Regions from separate parts of the Homo sapiens genome. Here regions 1, 2 and 4 are each linked to region 3. Evidence: promoter capture Hi-C in human tissues and cell types (Jung and others, 2019). All regions are on one chromosome and are shown on one strand. Each heading gives the region's core, a stretch centred on a gene start or on the middle of the fragment in contact. The rest is flanking DNA. Distances are from core to core; before and after follow the strand shown. Region 1 overlaps ACER2 (alkaline ceramidase 2). Region 2 overlaps DENND4C (DENN domain containing 4C). Region 3 holds the start of RPS6 (ribosomal protein S6). Region 4 overlaps DENND4C (DENN domain containing 4C).

Region 1 (4,099 bases), core at 1,558-4,057, 44 kb before region 3:
TATATCTTCACATCTTCCCCAGAGAAATGCTGCAGGCTGCTGGTGATGAAAAAGTCCCAATAGTCACAGACAACTCTGCCTCACAATATGCTTTCATTATTTTTTTTCTATTTTTTTAATGGGGTTTCACTGTGTTGCCCACGCTGGGCTCAAGAGATCTTCCTGCCTCAGCTTTTTGAGTGGCTGGGACTACAGGCGTGCACCACCCCAACTGGCTCTGTTTTCATTATTAAAGTTGGTAAGCTTTAACTACCAATGTCATCACCCCATTTTCTTCTTTCCTGCTCAAACAACTTTCCCCCTACCTCCAAGAATCAAGAAAAGAAAAGAAAAAAAAGGTTTTCTATAAGGAATACATTAAAAACTGTCCCTTGGAATTTCAACCCAGGCCTCAAGAATGTCACAAACAAATACACAAAACGTTTATTCCCATTTCTTCAATTTCTTACTCAGACTTGAAAAATAAGATATCTGAGAAAAGCGATTCCTCAGCTCTCAATCTAACGTACACCAGGTTTAGAGAAAGCATCATGGTGACTGGTGGGTATCTTTCAAGACAGGAGGGGAAGGGGAAGGGAGGGGAAAGGAGGGGAAGGGAAAGGAGGAGAGAGAGAGAGAGAGAGAGAGAGAGAGAGAGAAAGAGAGGGAGAAAGACAAAGACAGAAAGAAAGAAAAAGAAAGAAAGAAAGAGAAAGAAAGACAGAAAAAGAAAGAAAGAAAGAGAAAGAAAGAAAGAGATTAATGTGTTAATTTTGTTTTTTTTTTTTTAAAAAAAAAGTCAACCAGTTCAGATGAAAGGTAAAAGCGGCTGTTCCTCTCTGCTGGCAATGCCCAAGAACAGCCAATGGCTGTAGTTAGGTGTCCTCACCTCCCAGGCATTTTTGTGCTAATACAAAAACATACTCAGAAAGAGTTTAGTTCATTCATTCTAAAATTAGGATATCACACATAGAATTATATAATGTGCCCCTTGCAGCCAGCATTTTTCATAGACGCTTCTCCATTTGAGTCCACAGATAGCAGCAGCCTTAGTCCTCAGCAGCTTCACAGCTCCTGTTCCTTTTCAGAGTGCCAGTAAAACTGTAATGAATTATTTTCTTTTCCTGGTATAACTCTTCCATGGGCACATACCGTTTGCTTCACTGAATCCATAGTTTCAGACTATTTAGCCATATATGTATATTTTGACAAAACAGTGTCCTACAGAAAATGTGGGTAATGTGTTCCAGGAGCGTTTCTCATCTTCATTGGGCTGAATCTCCTCTGTGCCTCTAGATAGTAACAAACCTCACACAGCTCCTCAGAAAGACTTTCTCTGACCAAACTCTAAATCAGCACCCTAAGTCACCACTATACCCTTATCAGCTTCACTTTTCATCACAGTACCTAACATATCCTAATATTATATTATTTACTTGTTTGTTGATTTGTAATCTCCCCAACTTCAGTGTAAGCTCATTAGAGGAAGACTGCTGTTTTGTTTACTGTGATATTCCAGTGCCTAGCAAAATGCACAGTAAAATATAAGTGTTCAAAAATATTTGCTGGATGAATACCTGTATAACCCTAACACAATGGCTATTAAAATGCATCCCTTCCTGAAATTCTGGGTTTCCAGTTTGAACATATATACAGTATATGAGTGTGTATGTGTGTGTGTGCACGCGCACGCACGCAGGTGCACAGCTCTCATCTGAAGCAAAAAAAAAGGCAACTTGAAAACTACAGTATCTGTAGCTCCAAGAACCAGTTCATCAGTCTGGATTCTACTTCATATGTATAAAACTGGTGGAGTTGGATTAGTCTCAAGGAAATGTTGTAGCAGAAAATCAAAGAGTATTGAATAAGCATTCAGTAATGTCACCCCCACTGAAGGTCTTTCCACTCTTGCTAATTCTTAAACCACTGGGTACAGAGAGGTGATGTACTTTGGGTACAGAGAGGTGATGCACTCTGCATTATTAAAATTCTCTCTTTAATCTGTCAGTTTACTTATATTGTCAGATCATAAAAACAATCAGTAGATATTGAACAAGTATATGATAAGCTCATCACTAGGCTGAGTTCAATCATGTGCTATTTTTCTTCATATATACATTGTTATATTGGGTACTGCACCTAGTGGTAAATGCAATAATGTTTAGTGCAAGCTTACCGGTCATTCCGAAAGATCTTTGGTAGATACCTTCTGGGGAACCACATGGCCAAAGCACACATCAGAACCCAAAGGACTGCAAGTTCATCAAGCATCTGACCCAAGAAACTAAGGGTTGCATGGAAGTAGACGGATCCAATTCCTAGAATCAATTACAACCAATAAAAAAAGGTCACCACAGAAGAGACACAAATTCAATACACTGCTTAAGGATAGTCCTTTCACCAATGGTTAACACAGTCACCAGATCACTCTCTCTCTGAAAAAAGAAACTGAAGAAAGAAACTCACACCACCCAAGCATGCATGCCTCCAGTCTAGAAAGAAGATTTCAACTAGGGCCCAAATATCAGCACATCAGAACTTTAACAATTCCACAGTTAAACGCATTCTGTCTTCATCCACTGAGCCTTTCTGGGAAGAGGCAGTAAATAAAAGTCAACATTCCTTCACTGTTAAGAATTCCCAGGCTGCCTGTGGGAGGAAATGGAAATGACACAAGTATTTCACAAAACAATGAGGGATCAAACATCTACATTTTTTTCTTTAATTTTAGTCCATTAGAAACCAGCCTCCCCAGAGTTCAGTTGTTTCACCTGACTTTCTTCAGACGTTCAGAAAATTGCACTGGCATAGCCCTAATAGCTACTACACAAATGAAGTCTCAAATGCACGCAAGTGACAGTAATGCCAACTTTGTTATCAAGCCTGCATTCAAGCAAGTGGGAAAAAAAAGTTTGCTAAGACCTCAGAGTGACTTCAGTTTACAAAACATTATGTTCAAAGGGGAGAGGAAGTGTGTGGAATTCCTTCTACCCCCATCCCACCACCCCATTAAGTCCGTGTTCCCAAATGACTCCACTTACCCACTACAACCAAAAGAGTCCAGATTAAGTAGATGCCACTGTTGAAGCATGTTGCATACTGACGAAACAAGCACATGCAGATGGGCGGTAAAATGAAAAATAAGACATTGCTGATCTGCAGGAAAAAAATGTAAAACAGAAAGATGAGTATTAAGTAAAAAGGGCAAAAAATAAAGTGGCCTCTTCCAAGTATGTCCTTGCAAACTGGGATAAATGTGGTCACACATCTCGTTTAAGCTCTTGCACTTTTTCTTTTTCTTTTCTCTTTGAGATGGAGTCTCACTCTGTCACCCAGGCTGGAAGGCTGAAATGCAGTGGTACGATCTTGGCTCACTGCAACCTCTACCTCCCGAGTTCAAGCAATTCCCCTGCCTCAGCCTCCTGAGTAGCTGGGATTACAGGCACCCACCACCATACCTGGCTCATCTTTGTATTTTTAGTAAGATGAGGTTTCACCATGTTGGCCGGGCTGGTCTCGGAACTCCCAACCTCAGGTGATCTGCCTGCTTCAGCCTCCCAACGTGCTGGGATTGCAGGCATAAGCCACCACACCCAGCCTCTGACACTTCTTTTGACTACAGATATACAATCAGGAGAACTTAAAGCTTTTTAAATGACCATTTAAGAGGCTCCCTGCTGCTTCTTTGATCATAGGAGTAGCTATAAAAACACTGCAGTCTATGGATGCTGCCCAAGCTCCTCTCTTATTCTTATTAACTAAGAATTAAATAAGAATTAACCAGTAATTCTTATTGCAAGGTTAATTATGAATCATTCTAATTTACTTGCACTTATTTTTTTCACAATCCTTTTTTAAGAGACATGGTCTAGCTATGTTTTCCAGGCTGGACTGAAGTGATCCTCCCACCACAGCCTCCCAAGTAGCTGGGACTAGGTACATGCCACCATGCCTGGCTCCATTTACTTTTTTTTTTTTTTTTTTTGAGACAGAGTTTCTTTCTTACAGCCCAGGCTGGAGTTCTTTGGTGCAGTCTCAGCTCACTGCAACTTCTGCCTCCCAGGTTCAAGCGATTCTCCTGCCTCAGCCTCCCGAGTAGTTGGGATTACAGGCGCTCACC
Region 2 (3,894 bases), core at 384-2,883, 35 kb after region 3:
AAGAGACAAAGGATCTAGTCCAGTTTCAACATCTTCCCTCTGAACCACCTTAGCAATACCATATAAACTACTTCTCTTATTCCTCAGATCTTTGGATACTGTTTTCAAGTCTCTGGACTGATTACTGTTACTATCACTTAGTAGACTCTCATATGTATCTACTGTTGCAGTAGTTTTAGGTACGTCATCAACCACAGGCTCAAGGAGTTCTTGGCTTTCCTCAAGCATCTCTGGCACCGGAGATGATCTGTGCTCAGGATTCCAAGTGCTTTCAGACATACAAGTCCTACTATCAGGTAGGTGACAGCTAACATTCTCAAAGCTATGGGTTCTTGCAATATGAAGTAGAGAAGTCTTAGGACATGTCAATGCTGCTGTGAGAATCTTGGCATCTGCTCCCATCATGATAGCCATTTCACTTGAATTCGAATCCAAACTACTCTTCTTAAGCAACATTCCTGCTCGACTTTCAGAACTAAAACTACAACTCCTCTCAGGAAAATGCTTTTGTCTTTTTTCTCCTCTATCACCATTCTTCTTGAGATTAGTAGCTTCGCCAAAGACTGCATCTTCAACTGGATCTTGAGTAGAAAACAGCACATTTGATATACTACCTAAAAGGGAAAGTAAAATATTAACAATGAACCTATTTTCCAAGTTAACTTTTATTAAAATATTTATTGTTTTCCTGATTATGAATGTGACATATACTCAGAATAAAAGATCCAGAAAATTTAGAGGCCATAAAGAAAGTATAAAAAAAAGTGCACTGGAAAAGCTATTTAAAACTTGCCTCCCAGGGACATTTTAATGTATAACCTGTCTTTCATCCTATATTTATATAAACACCCATTTAAAAAAACAAATCATGCAACATATGATAGATGGATATACCTGTGTTCTTCACTAAAATACAGAAAAAGAAAGAATCTCTTCCATCTTAGTTTTGTATCCAATTCAACAAATACTTGCCAGTAATCTACTCTGCAAAAAGCAAATTTGTAATCTTATAGGAATTGTATATTTGCTATACTCAAAGTCTTACTGCTGTAAAGTAAAATAATCCGGAATGGAATGCTTAGCACTGGCAAATTCTAAGAAGGCTGATAAAATCTGAGTGGTTAAAAAATTATTCAGATATATCCATTTCTTCAACAAATACTAAACGTCTACTAGTAGCCACTATATGAGGTGCTAGGAATATAAAGGCAAATAAAACAGACATAATCCTAGCCTTCACAGAAGTCAGTCTTATTTGATCAGGTAGAGAAAAAATATGCTAATGGCCATAGCAGCTTCCCCCAGCTTTGGAAAAAGAAAGCAGTCTTTTACTCTTGGCTACCATGCAATTTGTTTCACTCCAAGACCAAAAGCTGTTATTTCCTATTTGAATCATTATTAGAACTTAAGTCTACCTGTTATGGACTGAATGTTTGTGTCCGCCAAAATCCACATGCTAAAATCCTAACCCTCAGTGTGACAGTATTAGGAGGCAGGGCCTTTGAAAGATAATTTGATCATGAAAGTGGAACCCTGATGAATGGGATTAGAGCCCTTAAAGGAGAGCTCTCTCCTTCTCTGCTGTACGAGGATACAATAAGTTAGCACTCTGCAACCTGGAAGAGGGCCCTCTGCAGAACTCACCATGCTAACACCCTAACCCTGGACTTTCCAGCCCCTAGAACTATAAGAAATAAATTTCTTTCTTTTATTTTTTTTTAAGTTAGGGTTATGCCGGGCATGGTGGCTCACACCTGTAATCCCAGCACTTTGGGAGGCTGAGGCAGGCGGATCACCTGAGCTCAGGAGCTCGAGACCAGCCTGGGCAACATGGAGAAACCCTGTCTCCGCAAAAAAATACAAAAATTAGCCAGATGTGGTGGCATTCGCCTGTAGTCCCAGCTACTTGGGGGTCTGAGGCGGGAGAATCCTCAATTGCCTGAGCCCAGGAAGTTGAGGCTGCAGTGAGCCATGACTGTGCCACTACACTCCAGCCTAGGCGACAGAGTGAGAGTCTGTCTCAAAAACAAACAAACAAAGTTAGGGTCTTGCTCTGTCACCTAGGGTGGAGAGTACAGTGGTGCAATCATGGCTCACTACAGCCTCAATCTCCTGGCCTCAAGCGATCTTTCCCTCCAGCCTGCCAAATTGCTGGGATTACAGGCATGAGCCACTGAGCCCGGCAGAAATAAATTTCTGTTGTTTATAAGTCACCTAGTCTGTGGAACTGTATAGCAGCCTGAGTTATTCATATTTAGGATTCTCATTTGTGTTTTTCTTTTCCTTCGTTTTCTTTTTTATCCATTGCTTTTTACTGTAGTCACATCATTTGTTTTGTTAAAAAGCATAACAATATCTGGGTGCTTCAAGGAAAAAAGCTGTCTTAGATAAGATCTTTCTTTTAAACTTCAAGATTGATTTCAAGGTTCTTTTTAATCTTTCAAGTTAGTACTGATAATCATATCAATTAATCAGAATAAGCATTTAGAGATATTCTTTTAAGCCTTCACGGGAATTAAACTAACCTATTTTACAACTCAAAATATGTACCTGCTTTGAAAGCTGGTCCCAATATTTGAGAAACAAATCCTTGCAAATATTATTGGTTCTCATAGTATTTCCAAGGAATTTAACGGCACATTTTATTCAATGTTTTTTAAAAAAAATTTGCTATACTGACAAAAGCCCCATTATCCTCGCCCTTCGTTCTTAATATGAAAATAAGTTAAAAGGGAAGGAAACACAACAGTCCACAGACGATGTCCAGTTCAATATTTTGAGAGGATTCTAAGCCTCTGACGAAGAAAACTCTTCCCTCCTTTTCCCCAGTATCTCTGCTATCAAGAGGTTAGGAAAATGGAATCTGCAATGTATATATCAATTATTTTCTCAAAAAATCTTTAGCCCCACCTCTTGAGCACTACCCAAACAAGTAATGAGTGAAACTCGGAGTCACGGTAAATACAAAGAGAAAAGACTTTAAGAACAAGGAGTACTTTTACATTGGTTTAAGAAGCTGAACAAATTAATTTCTGTACAGTCATACAATAGATACATTTTCAGACAAGACAGTCAACTTCAGAAAAGTCAACTGCAGCCACCACTAATGAAGGGCAAAGGATGCAGGCCAATTTCATTGTCTTTTAAAATCATATACTTGGATATGTGCCATAAGAGTCTTGGGAGACCTATATATATAATGAAAGTAGAAAACTCAAATTCAAGGGAGTCATACACACAGAGTTATTTAGTACAAACACTTAATCACAAATAAAAAATGGCTTGGGGTACCTATAACAATGGCCAAAATCAAAGATCCACTGGCATATCTGTGTAGAGGGGAAATGACGTGAATCTTTTTCTTCCATTTCCCTTCAGTGATAGGAATTAGCCTGCCACTCATAAGCCCTCTGGAATTTGATCACATCACTGCCTGTTCATGATGCATACAGGAAGCCCTAAAAGTACACTTTCTTATTATCTATAATGAGAAAGAGTGGCCAAACGGTGGACAGGCACCACAACAGGAAAGGGTATTCCAAATAACAAACACACTAAATACTCCTTTTAAAAATCAAACACCTTTAAATAACAATATTTTCAATTTCTTTAGCCGATTTAGAGAATTCAAAAGTCCCTTCTGGCTCTTTAGCATGTTCATTACAATTAAGTCAAAAATTTAATGTCATTAAAGACACATATGAGTCTATAAAAGTATATTTTAAATATTTAATAACCAAAATGTAAAGACTCACCAGTGCTACTTTTCCTGCTGTTGACATCAAATATACCAGACGGAACTTTCACAATACTGCTGCCCCATGCAGGAGGTTCAGTAGGACTGTGAGGCTCTGGACTAGGTTGTGAATGTTTTGCCACAATAGCAGAGGCATC
Region 3 (3,753 bases), core at 202-2,701:
CATGATTTTGATAAAGTGCGGTCCTCATACATTGCCGGTGGGAATGTAAAATGGTTCAGCTGCTTTGGAATACAGTTTCAGTTTCTCCCTGAGTTGAGAATAGAACTACTATATGACCCAGCAATTTCACTCTTAGGTATATACCTAAAATAATTTAAAACAAGTACTCAAACATAGAAGAACTATTTACAGTAGTTAAAAGGCAGAAACAACCCAAATGTCTATTTATGGAGGAATGGATAAACAAACTGCAGTCTATATCTACACTAGAATATTGAGCCATAAAAGCAGTGAAGTACTGATACATGCTACGACTCAAAAGATTAGAAGACAGATACAAAAGGTCAATATTGTATGATTCCATTTTTATGAAGTAGGTACATCCACTGAGACAGAACACAGATTGGTGGTTGCCAGGCCTGGTCGAAATGGGGAAGGGGCAGCAACTGCTTTAACAGGGTACAGGGTTTTCTTTTAGGATGATGAAAATGTTTTGGAACTGTATCGATAGAGATGGTGGTTGTACAGCATTGTGAATGTACTAAATGCCACTGAATTGTTCACTTTAAAATGACTAGTTATGTCAATTTCACCTCAACAAAAAAATGACACACAGTACTCAGATTTTAAAAAGCATCATTTCACCAAGATTCCATGAATTAATGTGAGATGATCAAAGAGGATTCAGTAGAATCGTTCAACTTCGAATGTAAAACAGTCCTAAACTCAAACCTTTGTGACACTAAAGTGGGGAGATGGTATGTGATAGTTTTAGATAGTAAAAATTATTCTTGTTTACTTGGTCTCGAACTCGAACTTTTTTGAGGCGGAGTCTCTCTCTGTCGCCTGGGCTGCAGTGCAGTGGTGCGATCTGGACTCATTGCAACCTCCGCCTCTTGGGCTCAAGCGATTGTCGTGCCTCAGCCTCCCTAGTAACTGGGACTACAGTCGCCCCCCACCACGCCTGGCTATTTTACCTATTTTTGGCTATTTTACCTATTTTTATTAGAGACGGAGTTTCGCCATGTTGGCCAGGCTGGTCTCGAACTCCTGACCTAAGATGATCCGCCCGCCTCGGCCTCCCAAAGTGCTGGGATTACAGGCGTGAGCCACCGCGCCCGGCCTTGCCCTCCTATTTTGGTACCGTCAGATGCAAAGTGCCTGGGACAGAAGTGGGGCTCCGCTGGCGCCCAGCTCCAAAACCCAGGCAGCGTGGAAAAGACTAGACAGGGAAGGGGTTAGCCCTCAGAATTACACGCGGGTTTGCCTTACCAGACTACCACCACTGGCACAACCTCAGACCCACACCCAACCGACTTTACCTCCCAGGCCCTGATTAATCTCGCCCGGAAGTACCGCCCACCCATGCTCACTTCCGCTATCCCGTACTTCTGCTCATCTCGCGAGAACTGAAAGCGCCTATGTGACCTGCGCTAAGCGGAAGTTGGCCCTCTTTTCCGTGGCGCCTCGGAGGCGTTCAGCTGCTTCAAGATGAAGGTAGGTGATGGTGGCGAGTGTTAGACTGGGTTTGGGGAACGTGAATCGAGTCCCAGAACGCGGCATTGCCTCAGTTCCAGCACTCCAGGATCCTGGCTTTAGGTGGAGAAGGGTCTCAAGTAGGAGAAGGCTCGCCTTTCTGGGGCATGGAGCTTTTTGGCCGAACGGATGGCAGGCGATTGCGGCTGGAGCCGCGGCGGGCCGGGAGCGCCATGGTGGCGTCCCCGCGCCCAGCCGGGACGGATGCGGCGTGTTGCCCAGTTTGCGGCAGGCCTGTGGTGCGGCTCTTGACCCCGGCTTTCTTGCTTCGGGAGGGTGAACGGCTGCGGAGTGCCCTCGCCCCCAGAGTCATTCCGCGGGGCTTGAGGGGAAAACGTCCTGCTGAGTGCGGCGCTTCTTGACTGCTACTCTGCTTTCACGTGCTTTTAGTGAGTACAGTCGGCATCTTATATTTCCTGCTTGTGTGGAGGCAACATGAAAGGCTTTTTGCAGTGGAATTAACTTTGTAGATGGCTCTACAATTACCTGTATAGATAGTTTCGTAAACTATTTCCCCCCTTTTAATCCTTAGCTGAACATCTCCTTCCCAGCCACTGGCTGCCAGAAACTCATTGAAGTGGACGATGAACGCAAACTTCGTACTTTCTATGAGAAGCGTATGGCCACAGAAGTTGCTGCTGACGCTCTGGGTGAAGAATGGAAGGTAAAAGTTGACAAATTGTTGCAGGTATTTAAGTCAGAGACGGTAAACGCCATTGGTAACTGGTATTTGGAATGGGGTTCAGACTCCGGGTTCTGGCTTCTGACCTTTGGTAAGTTGCTTCCGAATGCCACTTTATAAAGTTAGAGGTATTACCTTGGAGGGGGGGACGTAGAGTAAGCCATAAAATATACGTAAAGTTTACATCAACATAATTCTTGCCCTGCATCATGCATTTGGCAATATGTCACATAGCTGTCCTCATAATCCCCAAAGTGCCAAAAAGGGTTGTATCTGATTTGTTTGTTGCTGTTTGATATTTTATCTTCTTAGTGCTGTTATCTCTAATAAAACATCGGTTAGAAATGCGACTTGAAAGACATTTGATAATTGAACTTGACAAGTTGGGAATATAGACAAAACTCACTGAACAGAGAAAACGTGCTTAAGTTCAAATTGGTTTTCATAATTATACTTTCTCATATAGGTGTGTTCACAGAGGTCACAATCCTGTACTGTATAATTTTGGAATAGAAATAGTAAATGTGTCATTCATTGTATGCTCTTGCAGGGTTATGTGGTCCGAATCAGTGGTGGGAACGACAAACAAGGTTTCCCCATGAAGCAGGGTGTCTTGACCCATGGCCGTGTCCGCCTGCTACTGAGTAAGGGGCATTCCTGTTACAGACCAAGGAGAACTGGAGAAAGAAAGAGAAAATCAGTTCGTGGTTGCATTGTGGATGCAAATCTGAGCGTTCTCAACTTGGTTATTGTAAAAAAAGGTGAGGGTTACTTGTGTTCAATTTTCGTTGAAATTGATTTAAAGCCAGTTGTCCAAATGCTTATTCATTTGCAGTATCCAGACTTACAGACCAATGGATTTGTTTCTCTACCATCAATTCAACATTAAACATTCTGATTTAGGATTCTTAAGGAAGTTGTTGAATTAAAATCTCTTCAACTGTTTCTTCTAAGGAGAGAAGGATATTCCTGGACTGACTGATACTACAGTGCCTCGCCGCCTGGGCCCCAAAAGAGCTAGCAGAATCCGCAAACTTTTCAATCTCTCTAAAGAAGATGATGTCCGCCAGTATGTTGTAAGAAAGCCCTTAAATAAAGAAGGTAGGAGGGATTATGCAATTAGGGCTTGCTTAATTTTGGTAATTTGTCTATCATTTTGTGTGCATATCAGAAGATAAATATGTGCCTTTGGAAGGCCTTAGCACTATTCACTTGGAGTTTTTACAGAAAATATTTGGGGGTGGCCAGCATACCCAGTTGGTGTTAATCCTTGCTTATTATATCCAGTGCCTTGTAGAGTGCAGTAATTTCGTTGAAAATCTGCTTGTGAATCTTTGATGTATACATTATCCAAAAATAACCTGACTTTAAGGTCATTGCTATCTGGTTTAGGAGTCACATGTTTGAGAATTCTGGGACTATTAGCACCACACACTTTGTAATTTTATATCAGATGTTCTAAATTATTAATATTTTTTAAGAGATGAGGTCACACTGTTGCCCAGGCTGGTCTTGAACCCTTGAGCTCAAGTGAT
Region 4 (3,766 bases), core at 602-3,101, 56 kb after region 3:
AGGGAGCCTCATAAAAGTATCATTTTTCTTCTTCAGAATTGAAACTTTTAAAGATTAAAATACAAACACTAAGGTAAACAATGATCAACATCTGACAATACCATCCAATTCTTAAATTATAACACCTAGTGGCATTTCCATAAAATATTTATCTACATTAGTTCACTGAACTAATACTGAAAATGAGTTTCACAAAAGACTAATATACATATCTACTAATAAAAATTAAAAGAAACTGATAGGCTGTGCCATTAAGCTCTTTTAAAACTTCCTACTACCTGTACTTTGGTGACAGGTCCTTTCCATCATCAGGAGGTGGCTCTGGCGGCATTATAAATACAGTATGCTCACTTTTCTGTGAATCATCTAGTTCTATCAATCTGGTATCTTCTGCTGAATCAAAATCAACCTGAAAATCATTATTTTTCCCCAATTAATTTGCATACAAACAAGATCTAATTCTGAAATTTCAACCCTTAAAATCTAAGAAAAACATACCTTATCTGTTTTCTCTGTGCCTTTATCAGGAAACAACTAGAAAAAAAGAAAACAGATTCTTAATGAAAATGTCCACTATGAATTTAATAGACATTTTTATCTTACATTCTGATTTAGAAAAAAACTACCCCTTTTCAGTACCAGCTGATACAAAACATGCACAGTATATTTTTAGGCTGAATACATACTCTTAGGCTAAAGCATAATTTTTTACTTGTGGCTATTAGGATAGAAAACTATTTTGATTAGTTGTTTTGTAAACCTTAAGACAAAAGATGACCAATCACAAGGTTATCTGGCTTCTCAAATAAAAAATTTCATTATTATTAAGCCCCTTTATTAGTGATTGACATTAAACTTCTCATATAACTGGAAGATACTGGAATATCAATTTTGTAAATAAACAAAAATGTTGAATAGTTTTAATTATATCCCTGGAATTTTGGATCACACTGATAGGAGAAAATTATTTAAATCTTCTAAGGCATATGAATCATGAGGGGGCCATAAAAATTAATGTCATAATATTCAACTTTTTTTGGATACAATCTCAAATGTTATATAATATACAGTTTGCATAAACAATTGGCCCCAAGATCTACTTAGCAAAAATAAGAATTATATTAAAAGTTAGGAAAAATTATAACTAAGTCAAGAATCAATTTTAACTTCCTTAGGATGGGTGGGTAAAGCTTTAAAATTTAACGTATTTCCACCCTCCATTAGAACAAAAGAAACATATTAGGCAAAAGAATCTGGAAAGACATTAAAACAAAAGAACATAGAACTTCTATTACCCATAAAACTAAACATTTTTTAATTAAAAAACCTAAATCTTAAACTAAATCTTATTCATTTAAATTAAAAAAATATAAACTCACAAGGCTCAAGAAAATGTTCTTAGTTTTACAACTCAATAGTTGTAAAACGAAAGTGAGATTTAAAGAGAAAATTTACTGGCTGGGCATGGCGGCTCATCCTGCAATCCCAAGGATTTGGGAGGCCAAGGCGGGAGGATCACTTGAGCCCAGGAGTTTGAGACCAGCCTGGGCAATACAGTGAGACCTCATCTCTACCAAAAATTAAAAAAACTAGCTGGGCGTAGCACATGCCTGTAGTCCCAGCTACTCAGAAGGCTAAGGTGGTAAAATCACTTCAGGCAAGAAGTTCAAAGTTGCAATGAGCTATGATCATGCCACTGCACCCTAGCCTGGGTAACAGAATGAGATGCTGTTTCAATCAATGGATCAATGAATAAAGAATAGAAAAATTGGCTATATGTGGTAGAAACTTGAAACCACAAAGAATTTTATTCATATATTCAGCCCAGAATCGGTAACACATACACACACATACACAACCCTACTCTGTTTTCCTTATATCACTCTAGACTAACAATAACAATGATAATTACACAGGTAAGGCAAACTTTTTTTTCTAAACACTAGTATAAGTACAAACTTTTACCTTTTCTATGCAGTCATCAAAAAATGCTAATCCAGTATCTTTATCACTTACAAAACTGCATTCTTCAATGAAACGAATAAAAATCTGTGTTTTGGATAAAAGGGTATAGAATTTTGCATAGGCACGATCTCGACTTTTTAAAAATCCTGAGGAAAACAAAATATAATTAAATTCAAATTTTAAACTGGAATTCGATATTATAGGAAACATTAAACTTGTACTTATCTATATTACATTCTCTTTATATATACATATATATATCCATATTTAAAAAGAAGCTTCTATAGGTTGAGTATCTCTTATCTGAAATGCTTGGGACCAAAAGTGTTTCAGATTTCGGATTTTTTTTTTTAAGATTTTGAAATATTTGCATGTGCACAATCACATATCTTGGGGATGAGACCCAAGTAAACAGGAAATTCATTTATGTTTCACATATACATTATACACACAGTCTGAAGGGAATGTTATACAATATTTTCAATGATCTTGTGCATGAAACAAAGTGTGTGTTAAGTACTTACGTGTAGAATTTTCCACTTGTGGCATAATGTCAGCCCTCAGAAAGTTTCAGATTCTGCAGCATCTCAGGTTTTGGATTTTTAGATTAGGGAAGCTCAACCTGTGGTAACTGCATATATAGCTCCTTCTGCCTAATTAAACCACGAAAAATACTTCTATCAAACTCTTCACTGAAATCTAAATCCCCTATAAGGAACCTCCAGCTCTACAACTTTTAAGTAGAAATTTCTCTGATACTCTGCATACTCTTGAGTCCATGGTCAATTTCCAAAGAGTCAATGTCCTTCCTCTTTAATGTTGCAAGACCATTATTTCTGTATTGTGTTTTTAAAATTTCTGCTCATTAAAGTTTCAAGCATCTGACTATTCCACAATTTCCTCTATTAATCGTAGACATCTATTGATTTCAGGGACACTCCTTCATTCACTGAAGACCAAGGCATCTGATTCAAGGTCTCCTCCTTTCTAATTCCTACCACCATCATTCTTCCACACCCAGAAGCACAAACCATGAAAACACTTTAGATTCTTCTTCATTCCTTTTTTTTTTTTTTTCCAGACAGAGTCTAGCTCTGTCGCCCAGGCTGGAGTGCAGTAATGTGATCTTGGCTCACTGCAACCTCTGCCTCCCAGGTTTAAGTGATTCTCCTGCCTCAGCCTCCTGAGTAGCTGGGATTACAGGTGCCCATCACCACGACTGGCTAATTTTTGTATTTTTAGTAGAGACGGTTTCACCATGTTGGCCAGGCTGGTCTTGAACGGACCTCAGGTGATCAGCCCGCCTTGGCCTCCCAAAGTTCTGGGATTACAGGCGTGAGCCACTGCACCTAGCCTCTTTTCTTTTAAGAGATGGGTGTCTTGCTATGTTGACAAGGCTGGTCTCGAATTCCTGGCCTCAAGTGATCCTCCCATCTCAGCCTCCCAAAGTGCTAGAATTACAGGCATGAGCCATCATGCCCAGCCTTCATTCCTTGATTTTCAGTGATCCTATGCTCCATCCTACCTCAATCACCAACTTCAACACACAGTCACAGTCCCTTGACTTTCCTTGCCAGCATTCAAAACAACATTGCCTCTCAAATCTCTTTTTCACATCACTCCCAGCCCATTAGCTCTGCCTATCTGGTCTCCTTAATTAAGTATTTCTACTAAGTGTTTTAGGGTTTTTTGGGTTTTTTGTGCAGGGAGCAGAGAGGGAAGGCTCATGGAAATCTCCAATCCACTGGCCCCCTTATTTTTTTTTTTTTTTTTTTTGAGATGAAGTCTCACTGTATTGCCC

Evidence for each region. Contacts are between HindIII fragments. The study calls those that stand out against the background at their distance.
Region 1: a fragment that was not itself captured here is called in contact with the fragment with the promoter of RPS6 in region 3 in 1 of the 25 tissues and cell types used here (dorsolateral prefrontal cortex).
Region 2: a contact is called between a fragment that was not itself captured here and the fragment with the promoter of RPS6 in region 3, in 2 of the 25 tissues and cell types used here (lymphoblastoid cells and mesenchymal stem cells).
Region 4: a fragment that was not itself captured here is called in contact with the fragment with the promoter of RPS6 in region 3 in 1 of the 25 tissues and cell types used here (thymus).

What each region holds. Positions count from the first base shown.
Region 1 is chr9:19,422,898-19,426,996 of GRCh38, reverse strand. ACER2 (alkaline ceramidase 2) reads right to left here. Exons shown (of 6, transcript NM_001010887.3): 2 at 3,021-3,135; 3 at 2,156-2,297. Among named protein-coding and RNA genes, the nearest start is that of ACER2, 16 kb to the right of the region's middle. The HindIII fragment of the contact is 3,219 bases long and covers 1,198-4,099 here.
Region 2 is chr9:19,342,641-19,346,534 of GRCh38, reverse strand. It overlaps DENND4C (DENN domain containing 4C), which reads right to left. Exons shown (of 33, transcript NM_001330640.2): 22 at 3,756-3,894; 23 at 1-614. Among named protein-coding and RNA genes, the nearest start is that of RPS6, 36 kb to the left of the region's middle. The HindIII fragment of the contact is 5,809 bases long and covers 1-3,894 here.
Region 3 is chr9:19,377,934-19,381,686 of GRCh38, reverse strand. RPS6 (ribosomal protein S6) reads left to right here and starts at 1,451. Exons shown (of 6, transcript NM_001010.3): 1 at 1,451-1,497; 2 at 2,069-2,200; 3 at 2,769-2,979; 4 at 3,173-3,319. The coding sequence starts at 1,492. RefSeq lists an enhancer at 937-2,136. The HindIII fragment of the contact is 6,896 bases long and covers 1-3,753 here.
Region 4 is chr9:19,322,707-19,326,472 of GRCh38, reverse strand. DENND4C (DENN domain containing 4C) reads right to left here. Exons shown (of 33, transcript NM_001330640.2): 13 at 1,966-2,111; 14 at 499-534; 15 at 279-409. Among named protein-coding and RNA genes, the nearest start is that of RPS6, 56 kb to the left of the region's middle. The HindIII fragment of the contact is 4,100 bases long and covers 1-3,766 here.